7 separate regions of the Homo sapiens genome follow, and all the other regions are linked to region 2. The links are contacts of gene promoters, found by promoter capture Hi-C in blood cells and fetal thymus (Javierre and others, 2016). All regions are on one chromosome and are shown on one strand. The core of a region is centred on a gene start or on the middle of the fragment in contact, and the rest is flanking DNA. Distances in the headings are between cores, read along the strand shown.

Region 1 (2,700 bases), core at 131-2,630, 2.4 Mb before region 2:
CATGAAATAGGAAAAATAAAAAGCTTCTAATTACTTTAAATGGCTTCAAGTTTCTAGAAAACTTATATACATTGACGTACAGGTATGAACGTTTGGAAGTTGGTACTCTTAAAACATTTTACAAACCAGAAAGAGATGTTACTGCAGTAGTTAAATTAATGAATTGGTTTATCTTGAAGTATTACCTGGAAACCCTTCAGTGATATTGATGTTTCCCATTCCCTCTGTTAGCCTGGACTTTTTCTATGGCTTATTTTTTTCTATAGTTCTCTAGATTTTTCTATGAGGCACTTGACTGCCACAGCCAGGAAACTCTTAAGAATCTAATTTTCTGCTCTTCCTCCTCTGTAACTAAAGACTGGATCAGTTAGGACTGGGTTTCACTATCACATCTTGTAGGTGACCATGACTATTCGAGAAATGACCTCTTCATTTGCCTGCTTCTACCAAAAAAAAAAAAATTGGAACCACTAGATTGGATAAATTCTACATGATGAATATCTTAGCCAATTCTTACTGAGGGTTGGGGATCTGGGTGAGGTAAATCCTTCATCATTAAAGGTGACACCTTGGTAGTCCACCCCAACATCACCTTTCCAAAAATGAGCCTTCTGGAATCTACCTGAGAGTCGGGAAATATTGAACTAAGCCAGATGTCACTGACAGGTACATCCAGGACAACAGTTTGGGGCAATTTAATGAAGGGGCAAATAACCCACTACAATTCACCAAGTCCTTAGGCCTTCGGTAAATAATTTTTGATGCTCATAGTGATGACTGAATGACCAGTGTTGGATAAATGCATTCTATGAGGGCAGAGAAACATTTAAGCTAAATAAAACATTTTTGTGATTTAAAGAAATTACCTTCAGCTATCTGGAAAACTTGGCTATCTGACGATGATTCATTTTCTGGTGATTTCAACTAACCAAAGTTTTATTCTACTGTGCTTTTGGAAAAAAAAACAGGACCGGGCATGGTGGCTCATGCCTGTAATCCCAGCACTTTGGAAGGCCGAGGTGAGTGGATCACTTGAGGTGAGGAGTTCAAGACCAGACTGGCCAACATGGTGAAACCCCATCTCTACTAAAAATACAAAAATTAGCTGGGCGTAGTTATGGGCACCTGTAATCTCAGCTACCTGGGAGGCTGAGGCAGGAGAATTGCTTGAACCCAGAAGCAGAGGTTGCAGTGAGTCAAGATCGTGCCATTGCACTCCAGCCTGGGCAACAAGAGCAAAACTCCATGTCAAAAAAAAAAAAAAAAAAAAAATCTGTTTCACTGGCAGAGAAAACTCTGGACCCCATGGACTAGTCTCACCTGGTGTGACATTTCTTCTGTGCTTTTGACAATTTTCATAGCATGTTGATTCTTCATCTCATTCTCAGACATCAGTTAATTAGCTAATCTGGATTTTGATTCACACGTATTAAATACCATCTTTTCTGAGCACACAAAATCCCCCTTATGTGAAATAAATGGCATTATGTCCAAAAGAATGGTGTTAGATCGTCTTTTACTTTGGGGAAAAAAGGAGGTAATTAGTTTGATCTATATTTTTTCATTTGCGAATGTTAATGCCATTTTCACTTCTGAAGGAAAGGTGAATGGCTGTGCCCAGTCACTGAGTCTGGTTTTTGTGGCTCTGACATTATATAAAGGAGTTTGGGGAAATGGAATGGAATTAAAAGGGCCTCAGTTGAATATGTGGGTAAGTAGTGTTCTTAATACTTCAACAAAATTTCAAAGAGTTTGTAATTCATATAGCTTTTCTGAAAGGCTGCCAAGAGGGAGATTTTCAATAGATTGGTGGAATGAGGAATTAAATGCAGATTATTCTGGAAAAGACTAGAATTTAATACAACATTTGAACAGGTTAAATTTATATCAATAAAATACCAGGTGGAGAATGGGACCATTTAATTTCCAGCACACAGAAGACACAACATTTGTAGAAACGATGAACGCAGTGTGGGCTGCTGTTTCCGGCTTCTGTGTTCATTTTCAAAAGCAGCCTGGGAAATTTATGCCGCTCTTTGGAATTTGAGGTAGTGGTAAAGTTGCAGTCAGATGTGATGGATTGTGCAGCCAATTTCTTGAAGTTTGTGGTTCATTAATCCAGCATTTTGAATTTCAAAGGACTGAAGTGATGTCATTTGGGATGTACATCACAGAAAATTAATGGGGTTTCTTGGTCAGAAGTGAATGCTGACACAATGCGACAGGGAAAAAGGGATTGGTGTTGCTAATGGCTGGGGAGCGGGAAGGCCTTGGTTTCCAGTGGGAAAGGCTGCCTTGCCATTCAGAGCCTGCCCAGCCCCCCGCAGGCTCTGAGGGAGTCTTTTCTATGGGTCAGTCCTGCTCCGTCGTGAGAAAACACAAAGTATTGCTTATTCAAGTGTTTCCCAAGAATTCAGCAGTATCTGAAACAGAAGTTTTCATCTATTTAATTCAGTACGGCAGACCTGCGTTGCTCCTTGTGACTCCAGTCCCTGGTCTACCATCCTGTCTGGGAGGTGCTGGCAGGGCTGGGCTGAGATGAGTGGGAGCCCTGCCCATCAGGATGCTGTGTGGATATTGGATGTTTCCCATGCTGGCCTGTGCTGTGAGGCCCAAGGCAGAGTGGTAGAAGAGAGACTGAATCATTGTCAAAGACGCAGGCTGGGAAAGTAGGCTCGGAGGAGGTCCCCGGACAGATCC
Region 2 (2,700 bases), core at 59-2,558:
ATCGCGAGCAGTCCCTATCTGTCACCTTCCCTGCCGGCTAAGCGCTGCCGCCGCTGCCACCGCCGCTGCCGCCTCTGCCAAAGAATCGAACCTCGTCTACTTTATTCCACTTGAGCGTGGCCAAACTGTTGCTATTTAGTGGGGAGCAAAAAAAAACAATTTGCACCATCGAAACGAGCCAGCAACTGGTTGGGAGGCGGGCGGTAGCTGGGCCCCGCGTGCCCTCGGCGGCCGGGGTCCTCTCCGGGGAGAGGCACACACACGCATAGCCGGATCGCGCCTCGCCAGGGCCGGAGTCACCTGGAATGCGCAGCCGGAGAGCATCTCCCGAGCCAGAGCGAGCCTGACGCGCGCCCAGCGGGCGGCGGGCAGCGGCGAGCTGGGGCGGGCGGAGGGCCGGCTCCCGGCCGCGGGTGGGCAGGAGGGAGACGCAGAGCGCGGGGGAGGCAGGCTGGGGAGCGGCCGCCTGACTTACATGGAAGTGATATTCCTTGAGATGTCCGTGATGTTGATACTGGCGTTCCCATTGCTGTTCCCTGAATCCTGCCCTTCCAGGAGGGGGAAGAGGTTCCCATCGTCCGGCCGCCGGCAATTGATCTCAGTCTTGCTGCAGACACAATTTGCAGGGCAAGCCAGCACGGAGCCCACATAGTCCAGCCAGACGCTTCCCAGCAAGAAAATCCGCCAGAAACTACACTTGGCTGGGCAAAGAGAGACATCCATCTCCGATCGCTGCTTCTAAAAAAGAGGAGGAGGAGAGGAGAGGGGGGTGGGGTGGGGGGAGTGGGGAGAGCAGGGGGGGAAGGAAACAAAGACGGCGAGGGAGGGGGGAAGGGGGAGGGGGGGCCTCTGCCTTTGAAACGCCGAGCGATCAGATGCAAAATCCTTCAGCGTCTGAAACCATCGCGGACGCCGCCGCCGCCGCCGCCGCCGCCGGGTGGGAGCCGCGAGGAGCGCCTAGTGGCGCGGTCTGCCGGGCATGGTGGCCGGCTCGGCGATCGCTGACTCGCCGGGTCCGGGGGCTCTGGAAGCGAGGCGCGCTCTCCGACTCCGAGACTTTGCAGGGTTGCAACAGACGGTGGGGAGGCAAAAAAAAAAAAGGAAAAGGAAAAAATGGTGCTAAAGTCACCAAGTCCCACCTACTGGGCAGAATTAAAACGGACACACCACGCACCTGCAAAACACACACACTCACTCTCACACATACACACACCCGGAGCCCGAGGAAAGGAAGAGAAGGAAGATGCAGTAGGAGCTGCAGCAGCCGCCGCGAATGGCTCGCCGCGCGGCTGCAGAAATGTACAAGTGCTCCGAGCCTTACGAAACGCACGGGTTATCGGAGCGTCTTCCTCGGCTCCCTCCCTCCCTTCCTCCCTCCCTCCTCCCCTCCCTCGTCGCGGCCTCCTCCCCCCGCCCCCCGCCCGGGCTGGGAGCGGCAGGAGAGCGGAATCTCCCCCTCCCTCCCCTCCCCACACCCGTCTCTCTCCCCGCCTGTCCTCTCCCTCCTCCCCACCCACCCACCCACCCACTCGCCGGCTCGCGGCTGTAGCCGGCACCGCCACCCGCAGCCTCGCGGCAGCCCGCCCGCTCCACGCCTCGCAGCGCGGCGCCCGCTAGCCGCAGCCCGGGGGAAACCGAGACCGAAGGGAAAAAGTTGCATTTGAGATTGCGAGGGTCGGGGCTGGGGAGGGAGAGTTGGCGAGCTGGCTGCACGACACGGAAAGGCGCTCTCCTTTCCACTTTTTGGCCCTCGCGCTACCCGGTTTTGCTGCAATCCGGACCGCGGTAGGAAGTGAAATGAACGTGGCGGAGGTGATTGGGGAGTGCTCCCAAGCCTTGGGTGGGGGGCGCTCCCAAGCCTGGGTGGGTGGGGGGCGCAGGCTCACGGACGGCGACGGGGGGTGCCGGAGCGCACAGACACCCCAGAGAAGCACCCAGAGCCGGGGACCGGGACCGCAGACGCGCAGTCCTTGGTCTGAATGACACTCATTTCCGTAATCTAGAGTCTGGGGCTCTGGTCTTGGCTGGGAGGGGACTGCGGGACATGGCACGCTAGGTGCCCCCCGTGCCCGCTGCGCTTTCTTGGAGGTGGGTTTTGCATTCGGCCTTGAGCAGGCATGGATCGGGGAAGGAAGAAACAGGGGTCGAAAGGGCTGCGCTGGAGAGCCGAGGTGGCCCCGGGCGAGCTGTGCGTGCAAGAGAAATGGCCGGGGGAAATTGAGATGCAAGGGGCATATTTTGGCAAGCGCCACGCCAGCACCGTCAGAGGCCGGCTTCTCGGGCTCAGCTCTCGGGTGAGCTGAGCTGGCTGCCGGGTGAGGGGGCGGGCGGGCTGCTTTCTCCGGATTCGGGGGCGCAGAACCTCCTCCTTCCCTCCCACACAAGCACCCCTTCCTGGTAGGGACGCAAAGCAGGTGCAGCTTTCGACGAGAGCTCAGATCTCATCCGGGAAAGAAGTGTGTGTGGGGGGGGCCCCGCTTTTGCGCTGGTAGGGATTTTTTTCTTAATAAAACATAAAGATGCCAAGTGTGAGCTGTTTGCTGAAAAAAAAAAAAACGAGCATTCGCTGTGGGAAAGGAGAAGAAAGGGTTAGGGGAGTCCGAGCAGGCAGACACACTACAGCATTCACACGCAGAAGAAAGCAGGGTTCTCCTTCCCGAGCTTGGAGGAGGGCAGGCGAGGAAGCAAAATACATTGAAT
Region 3 (2,700 bases), core at 140-2,639, 2.4 Mb before region 2:
AAGCTCCGTAATAAAGCCCTATGTCTCATGTGCTTGCTCTGGGTCTCTTCAGCCTCTTGAACCTGATGCCTTCTCTATTGAGGTTTACAGGGGTTCAGCACAATAGGGAGGGGAAGGTGTCAGAGCATTCTGGTGGGTTCTGGGGCTTTTAAGAATAGAGATGCTGCTACTCAGTTGGAAATGATTTGTATTTCTTTGATTGGAGCCCCTTTCCCTAGTGGCTTCATGAAAGTGTACTACCTTCAAAATCCTAGTGGGATATATTTCATAAAACAGTAACCACAGATGTGCTGGGTCCCATATCCAGGTTGATGCCATGGGGCAAGGGACTCCCTGTGAGGATGGGTGAGGTTGTCCATCTGCTGACTTGATTCAGCTGCAGAACTTGAATCTAGAAGGGACCCTGAAATAAGCTTTTTAAGAACACCCAGAAGTCATGGGGGAGGATCCTGGGTTTCCGCAGGTCAAGGAGTGAAGTTCTAGCTGGTAGTATCTGGTCCTTAAGTGTGGAGAGACCTCAGCTGGTGGCTGGATTACAGATCTGGGCTGTTCTGTTTTCTTCTGGGGTTTGGCTTGATTGTATATGGTGTACCAATTTGGAACGGCCACTACTCAATGCAGTGACCTCCAACCAGCTGAGCTCTGAAACTTGGGAATTCCTGGGCTGGCAAGGGAAGCCTGGATTCTGGGTCTGCTGTCTGTGGGTAAGAGTGTCAGGAGGCTGGAGCAGCAGGAGACGGTGCTGGCTGGCGCCGGTGTTCTGGGTCTTCCTTCCAAGCTGCAATCAGGATTCCTTTCCTGAGATTCCTCCGAATTGCCTGTCTCCAAAATGCATAAGATGTTTCTGAAATCAGTGCTTCTCAAACTTTAATGCGTACCAGTGTCACCTGGATGGCTCATTAGAACCACGTGCTGAGCCCCTTCCCCAGAGGTCTGGAAGTGAGGCCTGACAATTTGCATTTCTAACAAGTTCTCAGGTGATGCTGATGCTGCTGGTCTGGAAACCACACTGAGAATCCCTGTCCTAGACCAGCATTTCTCACTTTACTGTGCACAGGAATTACTTGGGTTTCTTATTAAAATGCAGGTTCTAATTCAGTAGGTTTGGGGTGAGACCTGAGAATTAGCATTTTGACCAGCTCCCAGGTAAAGCTGATGTATAAGGACCACCCTTTGAGTAGCACCACCCCCAGTCATGCTGCCTTTAGCCTCTGACTGGCTGAAGGTCAAATGTTTCTACTCCCCTAAGAATAAGTACTTCTGGCTGGACACAGTGGCTCATGCCTGTAATCCCAGCACTTTGGGAGGCTGAGGCAGGCAGATTGAGGTCAGGAGTTCGAAGCCAGCCTGGCCAATGTGGTGAAACCCCGTCTCTACTAAAAATACAAAAAAATTAGCTGGGCATGGTGGTGGGTGCCTGTAATCCCAGCTACTTGGGAGGCTAAGGCGGCAGAACTGCTTGAACTAGGGAGGCGAAGGTTGCAGTGAGCCGAGGTTGTGCCGCAGCACTTCAGTCTGGGCAACAGAGAGACTCTGTCTCAAGTGAAGAATAAGTACTTTCATCCCAGCTGCTATTCTCAACTGCTTTGCAAGGGCGTGGTTGTCTCTTGGTCTGTGTGTATCTGCAATTCCCTGCTCAGTCTACCCCACACCACATCCCTGCTAGAAGCTGAGCTGCCCAGTCATCTGTGGGAGCACCTGTTCATCCCAACACAGTGCCACTGGGACAGTTAAGCCTCGCCAGGCTCTGGCTCTCGCTGGCTGCTGGGCAGGCGTTCCTTCGTGTTCCCCAGGGCCCACTTTGCCCTCTCGATGCTGGCAGTGGCTGTCCCAAGTGCCAGCTGTTCTTTTGCCCTTGAAATCAGCCCTGTCCGGCTTCTGTCCTGGCTTCCCTGATGTCCCTGACCATTCCCAAATGACTGTATCCTGCAAAAATGAGTCTGCTATAAACTGGGCTGGCAGCTGCTCTGGCAGACGGGCAGGAGGAACTTGGAGACTGTTCAAAATAAGGAGGAGTTGAAAATTAGGAACCATAGGGAGATGGAAAGAGGAACGGGAGTTAATTTAATGCCTTAAGTGTAATACACTTTATATGAATTTATGCAGAATTTACATAAAAAAATCAACCTAATATGTAGCACAAAGGCATTAGGGAAGGTTTCTTGTAGGATGAGACAGTAGAAAGGGAAGTGGGTTGGGATTCAGGAGAACCGAGTTCTAATCATATTCCCACATTAGTCAAGAATCCACAGGCCTCAGTGTTCTCTTGCATAAGAAGGTTTGGATTAAACCACCTTTGAGCTACTGCATGTCTAAAAACCTCACTTATTATTAGAGGGATTATCAAGGAAGGCTGGGGAAATCTTTAAGCTTTGGAATTAAAAAACCTGAATTTAGGCTGGATGTGGTGACTTGTGCCTGTAATCCCTGCACTTTGGGAGGCTGAGGCAGGAGGATCTCTTGAACCCAGGAGTTTGAGACCAGCCCGGGTGACATAGCAGGGCCCCATCTGTACAATAAGAAAATTAGTTGGTCACAGTGGCACATGTCCGACTACTTGGGAGGCTGGGGTGGGAGGATTGCTTGAGCCCAGGAATTTGAGGCTACAGGGAGGGGTTATTGTACCACCACACTCCAGCCTGGGCAATAGAGTGGGACTCTGTCTCAAAAAAAAAAAAAAAATCCTGAAGTTAAATCCTG
Region 4 (2,700 bases), core at 50-2,549, 2.0 Mb before region 2:
CCTAAGTTAGGATGTAAAGGATAAAGTATGAGATACAGGTAAAGAAGGGGAGAAAGGCCCAGGGCATTTTAGGCTGCAGCATTAGCAAGGTCAAAGGACAAGCCATGGGTACATGCTCTAGGTCTTGGAAAAAGAACAGTGGGGCAGAGGTATAGAAAGCAAGAGAAAGTGGTGTGGGACAAAGCTGGAGAGGGTGGCATCTGCCAGATTCAGTAGGGCCTCCTGGTCCATGTTTCAGATTTGGATTTTTTATCCAGAGCAAGAGTGGATGTGGGGTAGCAATGTGAGGGTGCTCAAATCTGAGCCTCTGATTGAGAAGACCACTCTAGTTGCAGACTGGAGAACAGCTTGAAGGAGATACAGAGTGGATATGGATAGATTAGTTTTGGGGCTATAGCAGTAGTTGGGTGAGAGATATTTGGGTGATTTTAATTTATTTCATTTCTTTTTGCTTAATTATATTTTCTAATATACCTAAGGAATAACCTAGGAAGTTAAAATATATGTTCCAACCAAGGACCAATAGCTCTAGAAATTACATTTCTCATTAAAGTACCAGACCCTCACATGCTTAGGCTAGGGTGACAACAGCAGAGATCAAAAGGAATGGACAACTTAAGAGCTCTCTAGAAGTTACAAAGTGGTGTTTGAGGAAATGATGGAGATCTAGGTGGAAAGGGCAGGTGGTGTTAAGGGTGCATGTTCAACTTCTGGGAAGATAGTATTTCCACTCTCTGAAAAGGGGACGTCTGGGGAGGGTCAAGTCTTGGTGAAGTGAATGTTAGGTTGCTGGTATCTGGATGCTAAACATTGCAAGAAGCTTTGGGTGGGGGACAGACTCTCAGGTGGCCCCCTGCCATGATCCTCACCTCCTGTTGTTTATACCTTTATGTTATTTCCTGCCTTTGAGGATGGGAAAGAGCTGAAACTTGTTTTTAACCCACAGAATATGGCAAGGTAAGGACATGTCATCCCTGGTCACCCCTGTGATTATATTACATAATTGTGTTATAAGAGGTCATTGCATATGTACTCTCTATAGAAACTTTCCTCATTGATGAAGTAAGCAGTAATGTTGGGGAAACCCCCATTGCAAAGAACAGTTGGTGGCTTGTAGAAACTGCAGGTAGCCTCTAGAAATGCAGAGTGGTCTTACTGTCTGTTGATACAGCAAGCCGGCAGTGTCCTTGGCCTTGGCACTGCAAGGAAAGGTATTTTACCAAGAACCTGTTTGAGTTGGGAAACATCCTTCCCCAGTTGAGCCTCAAGATGAAGACTCAGCCCTGGCTGATGCCTTGATTGCAGCCTTGTCAGACCGTAAGCAGAGGATCCACCTAAGTGGATTCCTGCCCCATATAAACTGTGAGATAATACATGAATATTGCTTCAAGCTGCTACAATTGTGGTAACATTACACTGCAATTGATAACTAATATGGGTGGCATTGCTATATCTAGGCCATCTGTGCCACAGAATATCTGACTTCCAAGAGATAGTTTGGTCCTATGTTTCCTCCATGTACCCAGGGATAGGAGCACATTTTTTCTCCAGTGACCTCTCCTGACTGGTGAATGATGACCCTGCAGGCTCACTGCCTGCAAACACATATACAGAGATAAACCCACTTCCTCACTTGGTACCCATTCCACCTTCCATGATCCAAGAATGACATTCAAGTTATTAGGTTGGTCCAAATGTAATTGTGGTTTTTGCCATTACTTTTAATGGCAAAAATTACGTTTGGACCAACCTAATAATATTACATTTCAGGGGCTCTAGTAAGCTTTTTAACGTAATTTAATTTAAATTTTACTTTATCTCACTCTTCACACCATCCCATCAGTTAGATCTTATACCCACTTTATAAATGAGAAAGGCTATGAGATTCAGAGAGATCAAGTAAACCCAGAACCCAGAAGCAGAAAAGTGGCTGCTCCAAGCTTCAAACCCAAGCCCTCTAATTCCTAATTTAGCAACTCAGTCCTGCCACTCAAAGATGCCTGTGACTTGCTTCTCCTTGAGTTCTTTGTCTTTGTCTCCATGACCACCATTGAACATCTAAACCCGCTTAAGCTGTACCACACTGTGCTATGTAGAATCTTGAATCAAACAGTGGACTCAAGCTGGACAAGTTGTTTGCCTCATTGGCTCTGTGATGTATGAATCCTCTGACCTTGCACCAGTCATCTAACCTTTTGATCTCCACAATCCTTATTTGAAAGATAAAAATATTGCACAGAGAGATATTTTAGATTCTTTCTAGAATTATGTTAAAAGTAGAGAGAAGACTTTAGGATCACTAGATTTAAATTCACCCAGAGGTAGACTTATAGCTAATGCTGCCTCTTTTTTTTTTTTTTTTTTTTTTTTTAGATGGAGTTTCACTCTGTTGCCCGGGCTGGAGTGCAGTGGCACAATCTTGGTTCACTGCAACCTCTACTGCCTGGGTTCAAGCAATTCTCCTGCCTCAGCCTCACAAGTAACTGGGATTACAGGGGCCTGCCACCATGCCCAGCTAATTTTTTGTAGTTTTTAGTAGAGATGGGGTTTCACTATCTTGGCCAGGCTGGCGTTGAACTCTTCACCTTGTGATCCACCTGCCTCGGCCTCCCAAAGTGCTGGGATTACAGGCATGAGCCATCAAGTCCAGTGAATACTGCCTCTTGCTAGCTGCTGAAACTTGGGAAGATTATTTAACCT
Region 5 (2,700 bases), core at 137-2,636, 2.0 Mb before region 2:
TCAGTTTTTAATGGCCCACATTTGCATATCAAAGCTGGCCAGCCCAGCTCTAAAAGCCGGGCCTTTCCTGCTAGACAAGAAACGTTCTGGAGCTACTTTAAAAGAAACAAAAACTTCCCAAGGACCCTCTTTCCTCTGTATCTGCCTAAAATAATTTCTTAATAACTCCTATAACAATAGTGACACACTATTGGCTGACATAAGGCTGAAGGGTGGCAGGCTCAGGGGTGCAGAAGCATTTGCTATTTGCCTCTTCCTCATACACTCAGGGCCTAGAGGCACAATGCAGTGTGAACCGATTCATGAGCGATGCTTGCAACGCAGGGCAGAATTGCTTTCCTGCTGTCTATGTTGGTTGTCTGTACTCTGGCCAGAAGCAGGCAGCATCACTGGTGGACAGACGGGTGCCTTAAATATCAAGTTGGGGAGAAAGGAAGGTGAGGGAAGGTCTCTGATTTTCTTCTTCTTGATGTAAATCCTGGCTTTCTTCTTTAAGTGTCATCCTCTGATGAGTTGACAGTGGACACAGCAAAGTCAAACCAGGTGGAAGATTTTCTAGACCTGGAAGGGATAATGGCTTGTCTTGGGGTTTAGCAAGTACTTCCTTCCCCACCCACAGTCTAGACTCAAAATAAAAATTTGGATGGATAAAAAAACTCCTATACAAATTTCTAGGCCTATTTCTAAGACAATTATTCTGAAGGGTCTTCTTGCAGAGATGCAAAAACAACAGAAAGGCGAGTGAGAAATTCTCAGCCTGACAGATTCCCCCGCTTTTGCACAACCTGTTGGGATGAGTCTCAAAATGGTGGGGGGTCACACATCCTGATCCCTGCTCACCTTTCCCGTCATCTGCTACTACTGTCCCCTTGCTTTCTTCACCTGGCTTTAGCTCCTGGACTTTTCATTATTTGTACTTACCAAGTTTTTGCTTTATCCACTTGCTGTGTGCCCTTGAGGTTTGAAGAATTTCCTATCCCCAGATCTCTGCATCCTGGTTCCTTCTTGTCGCTCATGCCTCAGCTCCAATGCCCCCTCCTCAAGGGTCTTCCCTGATCATCCAACCTAAAGCAGCCACCCTACCTCATCACTCTAGTGCCACTGTTTTGTTTTCTCTGTATCACTTGTCTCTATGTGAAATTGCCTTGTTTAGTTTTCTTTGTGTGTGCCTATTTGGTATCTGCCTCCCCCTGCCACTCCTGTGGGACTGCAAACCCCATAAGAGGTGAGGCTTTCTCTATTTCATTTTCTGCTGCATCTCTGTTGTCAATAATAGTGCCTGGAACAACTGGTATATCGTAGTTGCTAAATAAATGTTTGCTGAATGGATTAAGGGTGGTACCTTGGGTTTTGGGTGTGTGAACATGGTTTTAGTTTATAATTTACTCTCTGCCTAGCCATAGGGAGAATCTGGCTTTCCGGACAAAGGCCTGTATGTTTATTTGCATCTAAGAAGCAAACCTCCCAAGAGTCTACCATGTTAGAGAATTTTCAAACTAGCAATATTGAAAAATCAACCATATTTTCTCAAATCTAAGTCTATCATCAACTGTGAGGTGTATGCCATTTTTTATGTGCCACTGAGTGAGAAAATGCTGTCAGTTACAATGAAAACATCACCCTTGGTAAGAAGCACCTTAATTTCAGAAATGCTAAAATGTGGATAAACATATGCCTGAGGATTGATAAAGTATGTGAGATAGACTCCTCATATGGAATGTAGAATGTTGACTCAGAAGAGTTTCGAGTCTTGTGGCGCCTTCTATGTTTATTTTTCAAATTTATTTTTTATTTTTATTTTTTTGTAGAGATGGGGGTCTCACTCTGTTGTCCAGGCTGGTCTTGAACTCCTGGCTCAAGCAATGCTTCTGCCTTGGCCTCCCAAAGTGCTGGAATTACAGGCATGCCCCTTTCTCTTCATAGGTGCAGCATTGCAACCTAAGGTCCTTCATTAGACATTGTATGTGCTGAGGGTGGGGGAAGAGCAGAGATGTGTGAGGAAGAGAAAGGTGTGGATTCTGAGGCTTTACTGAAAGTAGAGAAATTCCTGTGGTTTGGGACTAGTTCTGTGGCAAGTTATTAGAAGGAGTTGAGGATTTATAAAAAGATAGATTCATCTAGATTTAAAACAGTGGTCTGAAGTGTAGTCTCTTACCTGTCCCGGTTTCTGGAGCTTCGGAAAAGCATCTTTAATTTTATAAAGGCAGTCAATTGAGAAAACAAGATTTGCTTGAAACCAAAATTTACTTTATAGCCAAGTTTATTGAAATGTATCTATTTTACAAAGAGAAAAAAAGTACCCGAAAGCTAATTCAAAACCATCATTCTTATTTGAGAAATGATAATCAAGTATAATTTCCATTATGGATGGCATTAGGTTTCCTTATGCTTTTGTACATATCCTTATGCTTTTGGCTGTTCTCCTTTGCACCAGCCACTCCTGCAGCTGCAGGGCAGGAGGAGGTGGCAGTTGATTCCACCTCTCTTCAATGGTGCCGCACTCACACCTGGGCCTGACATTGCTGGGCCGGCCTCACTGTGTCATTGGCTGGATGTAAAGAAGTCCCCAAAACATCTTCTCCAGGGACTCAAAGAACCATAGGCTATTTATTTGGGTCTTTAAACCTTTTCAAGTTTCCTACGAAAAACCAACTCTTACCACAATTTAGGGCCCTGAGAGGGAACAGAGAAGTTGGAGGA
Region 6 (2,700 bases), core at 96-2,595, 2.4 Mb before region 2:
CTGCACATTCTGCACATGTATCCCAGAACTTAAAGTAAAATTAAAAAAAAAAAAAAAGGCCTGTGTCTTTTTCAGTCAAACGTCTCTGCACAGGGTGGGGCCAAGCAACTGTGCCCATCCAAGCCTGAGCCGCACCACTCAGTGCCTGAAATCCCAGCCTAAGCCCACGTGGGTCTTTTCCCTGCACTACTGTGAGAACTTTGCTTTATCTCATGTCTAAGATAAACACCCAGGACATGTCTTGTAGAGATATACTCAGTCTCAGAAATGCTTGTGCCTACTCAAAGGGGGTGTGTTGGAAGGAGCCCTGGGAAGTGTCAGGCAGAGGTCTGATTGATTGTTGACTACCTACCCCATGCTTACCATATGTTTATGCCATTTTAGTCCTTAAAACAATGGTTCTCAAAGCATGGTAACCAGACCTGCAGCATCAGCGCTGCCTGGGAACTTATTAGAAATGCAGAGGTGGGAGGATCACTTGGGGTCAGGAGTTCAAGACCAGCCTGGCCAACATGGCAAAACCCCATCTCTGCTAAGAATACAAAAATTAGCTGGGCATGGTGGCATGTGCCGGTAGTCCTAGCTACTTGGGAGGCTGAGGCAGGAGAATTGCTTGAACACGGGAGGCAGAGGTTGCAGTGAGCCGAGATCTTGCCATTGCACTCCAGCCTGGGCAACACAGCCAGACTCTGTCTCAAAAAAAAAAAGAAATGCAGATGCTTGGGACCACCTGGGACCTGCTGAATCAGAGACTCTGGGGGAGGAGTCGGGGTAGAAATCTATGTTTTAACCCTTTAGATTATTCTGGGGCTTGCTCAAGTTTAAAACTGCTGCCTTAAAACATCCTCAGTCCTTAACATAATCCCCTATGTGTTATCACCACCATTCAGATAACAATCCCCAGGAGATGTCTAAGCTGCCCCAAGCAGAAAGTGGCACCTCAGTGCTGAAATGCAAACCCAAGTCCACCTAGCCTGAAAGTCCTCAGAGCTTCTTACCACATCCACCCTGCCTGCAAAGAAAATCTAGAAGCTAGTTTTTTTTCTGGCTCCTCCTCCCGCTCTCCTTCTAAGGTAGTCCACTCCCTCCTCTTTCTCACTGTCTCTGATCGTGACCCTCCCACACCTGCTTTCAAAGCTTTGTCTGTGAACCAATTAGAGGTTTGAAAAGCTGGTATCAGAAGTGCCCAGTATCATTTTTATGAGACTTCATGAATAAGAAAACAATGCCAACAAGTCAATATTGCGTGCAAATGTCAGTAAATTCCCACTCAATGGCTCCCTAGCCTGAATTTTGCAGAGTGAAATCGATGCAAGTTTTGTCAGGCCTGCTGACTTTAAAGGCGGAGGACCCTGTGCATCCAGAGAACCCACTGAAGGATGTAGGCTGCATCGTCACTCACTCTGGAAGGAAGTTAACAAAAGTACTTACACCTTTAACCTCCAGGGCATTCCTTCCCAGGCTGTGGAGGGGGGCTCCTTAGCCTGCAGTGACCTGGAATATGTTTCCAACTTTGCAGAAGTGCTGAGATCCACAAGATGGCAGCAGCCGCTCAAGCTTCGCACAGGGTCCCTGCTGCTTTTGTAATTCCCAAATTAAAAACCAAACCAAACCAAACCAAACGTACATCTGCAATCTGGAAGACGCCAGGAAAGATCATTCATTCTAGGCCTGCCCCCTTTACATCCAGAACTGTCCACATCAGAATCAATGTGAGCAAACTGCTTATAAAGGTCTTAGGGAAAAGGAATCTCAATTGTTGACTCAATTGATTCATTTATTTATTTACTTCTTTTTCCATCCTCCCAACTTTTCACTCTGAAAAGTTTCAAACCTATAGAAAAGCTGGAAGATGAACATCTTCTTGGTCTTCACTGGGATTCATCAAATTATCACATTTAGCCACATTTATTTCATCTTTCTCTCTCTTCCTCTGGATGAAAGCTTTGATAGTTGCAGACACCCTGACACTTTACCTCTCAATAATTCAACACGTCTTCTAAGAATAAAGACATTTCTTTATATAACCACAACATCACCATATCCAAGAACCTTAACATTGATACATTACTTAATTTATAATCACATTTAAATTGCCCCAACGGTCCCAGCAATGTTCTTTACAATAATTTTCTTTCTTTCCCTTCCTTCCTTCCTTCATTCCTTCCTTCCTTCCTTCCTTCCTTCCTTCCTTTCTTTCTCTCTGTCTTTCTTTCCTTCCTTCTTTGAGATGGAGTCTCACTCTGTGGCAGAGGCTGGAGTGCAGTGGTGTGATCTCAGCTCACTGCAGCCTCTACCTCCCAAGTAGCAGGGATTACAGGCGTGTGCCACCACACCTGGCTAATTTTTTTGTATTTGTAGTACAGATGGGGTTTCACCATGTCAGCTAGGCTGTTCTTGAACTCCTGACCTCCAATGATCCGACTGCCGCGGCCTCCCAAAGTGCTGGGATTACAGGTGTGAGCCACCTCGCCTGGCCTATAGTAATTTTCAATCCCCTGCTACAGAGTCCATTTGAGTATCACACCCTCATGTAGTTGTCATGTCACCTTTTTTGTAGAGCTCTCCTCCTCCGCTTTTGATCTTTTATGACATTGACATTTCTCAACAGTCCGGTTCATGTGTTTTGTAGAATGCCCAGCACTCTGGATTTGTCTTACTGATTCTGGATTATTAATCCAGGTTAAGTATCTTGGCAAG
Region 7 (2,700 bases), core at 34-2,533, 2.4 Mb before region 2:
CTTGGTCCTGAGCAAGGCCCTATGAGAGGAAAGGACGCCAAGGGCCTTGGAGTACAAACTCACTGTGAGGGAAGGTGAGATGGTGACCCTTGGATTTGTGAGAAGACACGGAGCCGGCTCTGAATGTGGCTGTGGTTGGGGATCCAGGCATGTCCTGTGCTTTAGGCAGAGTTTGTGCCTATGAACTAGGAAGAATAACTTGAAGTTCCAGTGTAGAACACTACTCTTGATTGTACAGATCTGGGCCAGCAAGGGTCTTAGCTGGAAGGAGGCAAGGGGGCTTTGGGCTACGCTGGGACAGTGTTCAGAGTGATGGTACAGAAGCCACTGTGTGAATTGGCCAATTGAACTCATTGGTTTGCCTCTCTTTTCTTCCTTTCCTTTCTTTTTCTTTCTCCTCCTTCTACTTTCCTCTCTCTTCATCTGGTATTGGAAGGTAGAATTTTTGCCAAAGGTGCCAAGAACACTCATTGGGGAAAGGACAGTCTGTTCAATAAATGGTGCTGGGAAAACTGGGTATCCATATACAGAACACTGGAACTAGATCTTGATCTCTCACTATTTACAAAAATCAAATCAGAATGGATTAAAGACTTAAATGTAAGACCTGAAACTATGAAACTATTAGGCAAAAACATTGGGGAAATGCTCCAGGACATTGGTCTGGGTAAAGATTTCTTGAGTAAGACCTCACAAACACAGGAAACCAAAGCAAAGATGGACAAATGGGATCACATCAAACATAAAAGCTTCTGCACAAACGCAAAGAAAACAATCAGGAAAGTGAAGAGACAACCTACAAAAATGGGAGAATATATTTTCAAATTGTTCATCTGACAACAAATTAATAATCAGAATATAAGGAACTCAAACGACTCATATATTATTTTATGTATTATTTATATATTAATTGCTGAATACAATTTCTCAAATCAGTGGCGTTTATAATGTATGTAGATGTACCATAATGACAATAGTGGTAGAAAGGACTAGGCGAGGTTAATGAAACGATAATGTCGCAAGTGACTCAAAAGCCAATAGAGGAGTTAAAATAGAATACTAAAAAAGTTTGATTAACCCAAAGGACAGTAGAAAAGAAGGAACAGAGGAACAAAAAAGAGATAGGACAAATAGAAAACAAATAATAAAATGATAGACCAACATATCAACATTTGCATTAAATGTAAAAGGACAAAACATAACAATTAAAAGACAGAGATTATCAGGCTGAATAAAAAAGCAATTCCCGTCTTTATGCTCTATAAAGTGTGCCTATAAGGACACCCTTCTAATGTAAAGACACAGATAGTTTAAAAGTAAAAGAATGGAAAAGTACATACCATGAAAATAGTAAGTATAAGAAAGCTGGTGTGATTATAACAATATTAGACAAAATAGACCTCAAGGCAAGGAGTATTATGAGATACAATACAGATTATTTTATAATAATAAAAGAACCAAATCAGCAGGAACATACACCCCTTCTATATGCATATGTGACCAATGACAGAACTTCCAAATGTATGAAACACAAACTGAGAAGATTAAAGGGACAACTAGGCAAGTCAACGATCCTGGTTGAATATTTTTAACATCCCTTTTTCAGTAATTAATAGAACAATTAGACAAAGGCATCAGTAAGAATATAGAATATGTAAATACTATCAGTTACCTGGACCTAATTGCCATTTATAGGAGATTATACCCAAGAACAGAATACACATTCTTTTCAAATGCACCTGGAATATTTACCAAGTTAGACCATATGCTGGGTGATAAAATAAGTCTTAATAAAATTCAAAAGATTAGGAAAAAAAAAAAGCTTAACAGTGCAGGTTGCTGGACTGATATTTAAACAGCTCCCTGGGTCATGATCCCAAAGCTAATGTGGGAGAGCTCTATGACTGGAAATGGACATTTACAAGTCAGCAGATGATTCCGGCAGCATTTTGCATAGGAGATGAATGGACATCTGGATTCACAGAAGCTGGATTTGAAATAAATTCTCTATGTCGTCCAGCCTGTCTGTCTCAGTCCCTGAGAATATTTCTGGTAATCTATTTATCACTGATTTGAGAACAAAAGGGGATTAAACTGGCCTGACCCTCGAATTTTCAGCTCCAGACTTTCTGGTTCTTCAGCACCTGGGAAGAATATTAACTACTCATAGTAGAATGAATCACGTTGAGATACAATATTAAATAATGTGTTTTATTAAAGGAGCACACTGGGTTGTAAAATGTGACACTGAGTATTTCTCTACAAGCAGACTTGAAATCTTGCGATTCTTTCTAAACATGTAAAGCCTGTGATGGGTGCTCCAGATGATAACTAGCTCTATATTTCCCAGAGTAGTACCTTTCCAACCCAATCCTTACCCATTTTTCTTATTTTTCTGTGCTTTAATATTATTCCCATAATATGATCATATTATCATCAGAGTGACTATGAATAATGCTTTGGCTGTTTTATAATGAAGCTTCTCAACATGATTGATGCTGTGGAAACTGATCATTAAGCTTACTGGAAATGCATAGAAACAGCTCCTTAGAGTAACTGTAAAGAGGAATTTTATTCCAACACTTGAGCATCACATTCTGTCTTCTTTCTGCTCCAAGTCTCTCTTTCTCCATCTAATCCACTTACACCCCCACTGAATACAGACTCCTGAGTTATTGTGATAATATGGGAAAGTGATAG

What was found. Contacts are between HindIII fragments. The CHiCAGO score rates a contact against its expected background, and 5 or more counts as called.
Region 1: a fragment that was not itself captured here is called in contact with the fragment with the promoter of NTRK3 in region 2 in 3 of 17 cell types (naive CD8 T cells, M0 macrophages and endothelial precursors); the score reaches 6.8 in naive CD8 T cells.
Region 3: a fragment that was not itself captured here is called in contact with the fragment with the promoter of NTRK3 in region 2 in 2 of 17 cell types (M0 macrophages and endothelial precursors); the score reaches 7.5 in M0 macrophages.
Region 4: a contact is called between a fragment that was not itself captured here and the fragment with the promoter of NTRK3 in region 2, in 1 of 17 cell types (naive CD4 T cells). The highest score is 5.2, in naive CD4 T cells.
Region 5: a fragment that was not itself captured here is called in contact with the fragment with the promoter of NTRK3 in region 2 in 2 of 17 cell types (activated CD4 T cells and naive CD8 T cells); the score reaches 6.6 in activated CD4 T cells.
Region 6: a fragment that was not itself captured here is called in contact with the fragment with the promoter of NTRK3 in region 2 in 15 of 17 cell types (M0 macrophages, endothelial precursors, non-activated CD4 T cells and 12 more); the score reaches 32.1 in M0 macrophages.
Region 7: a fragment that was not itself captured here is called in contact with the fragment with the promoter of NTRK3 in region 2 in 4 of 17 cell types (endothelial precursors, M0 macrophages, M1 macrophages and 1 more); the score reaches 18.2 in endothelial precursors.

Annotation. Positions count from the first base shown.
Region 1 is chr15:85,903,673-85,906,372 of GRCh38, forward strand. No RefSeq gene overlaps it. Among named protein-coding and RNA genes, the nearest start is that of MIR548AP, 79 kb to the left of the region's middle. The HindIII fragment of the contact is 2,718 bases long and covers 22-2,700 here.
Region 2 is chr15:88,255,431-88,258,130 of GRCh38, forward strand. It overlaps NTRK3 (neurotrophic receptor tyrosine kinase 3), which reads right to left and starts at 1,309. Exons shown (of 20, transcript NM_001012338.3): 1 at 1,214-1,309; 2 at 854-1,056; 3 at 476-738. The coding sequence starts at 723. All of the region lies in intron 1 of NTRK3-AS1 (NTRK3 antisense RNA 1), which reads left to right. RefSeq lists an enhancer at 1-527. The HindIII fragment of the contact is 4,913 bases long and covers 1-2,700 here.
Region 3 is chr15:85,884,781-85,887,480 of GRCh38, forward strand. No RefSeq gene overlaps it. Among named protein-coding and RNA genes, the nearest start is that of MIR548AP, 60 kb to the left of the region's middle. The HindIII fragment of the contact is 1,957 bases long and covers 412-2,368 here.
Region 4 is chr15:86,217,600-86,220,299 of GRCh38, forward strand. All of the region lies in intron 5 of AGBL1 (AGBL carboxypeptidase 1), which reads left to right. Among named protein-coding and RNA genes, the nearest start is that of AGBL1-AS1, 98 kb to the right of the region's middle. The HindIII fragment of the contact is 963 bases long and covers 819-1,781 here.
Region 5 is chr15:86,237,031-86,239,730 of GRCh38, forward strand. All of the region lies in intron 6 of AGBL1 (AGBL carboxypeptidase 1), which reads left to right. Among named protein-coding and RNA genes, the nearest start is that of AGBL1-AS1, 79 kb to the right of the region's middle. RefSeq lists an enhancer at 1-775. The HindIII fragment of the contact is 6,883 bases long and covers 1-2,700 here.
Region 6 is chr15:85,863,748-85,866,447 of GRCh38, forward strand. No RefSeq gene overlaps it. Among named protein-coding and RNA genes, the nearest start is that of MIR548AP, 39 kb to the left of the region's middle. The HindIII fragment of the contact is 420 bases long and covers 1,136-1,555 here.
Region 7 is chr15:85,845,291-85,847,990 of GRCh38, forward strand. No RefSeq gene overlaps it. Among named protein-coding and RNA genes, the nearest start is that of MIR548AP, 21 kb to the left of the region's middle. The HindIII fragment of the contact is 1,073 bases long and covers 748-1,820 here.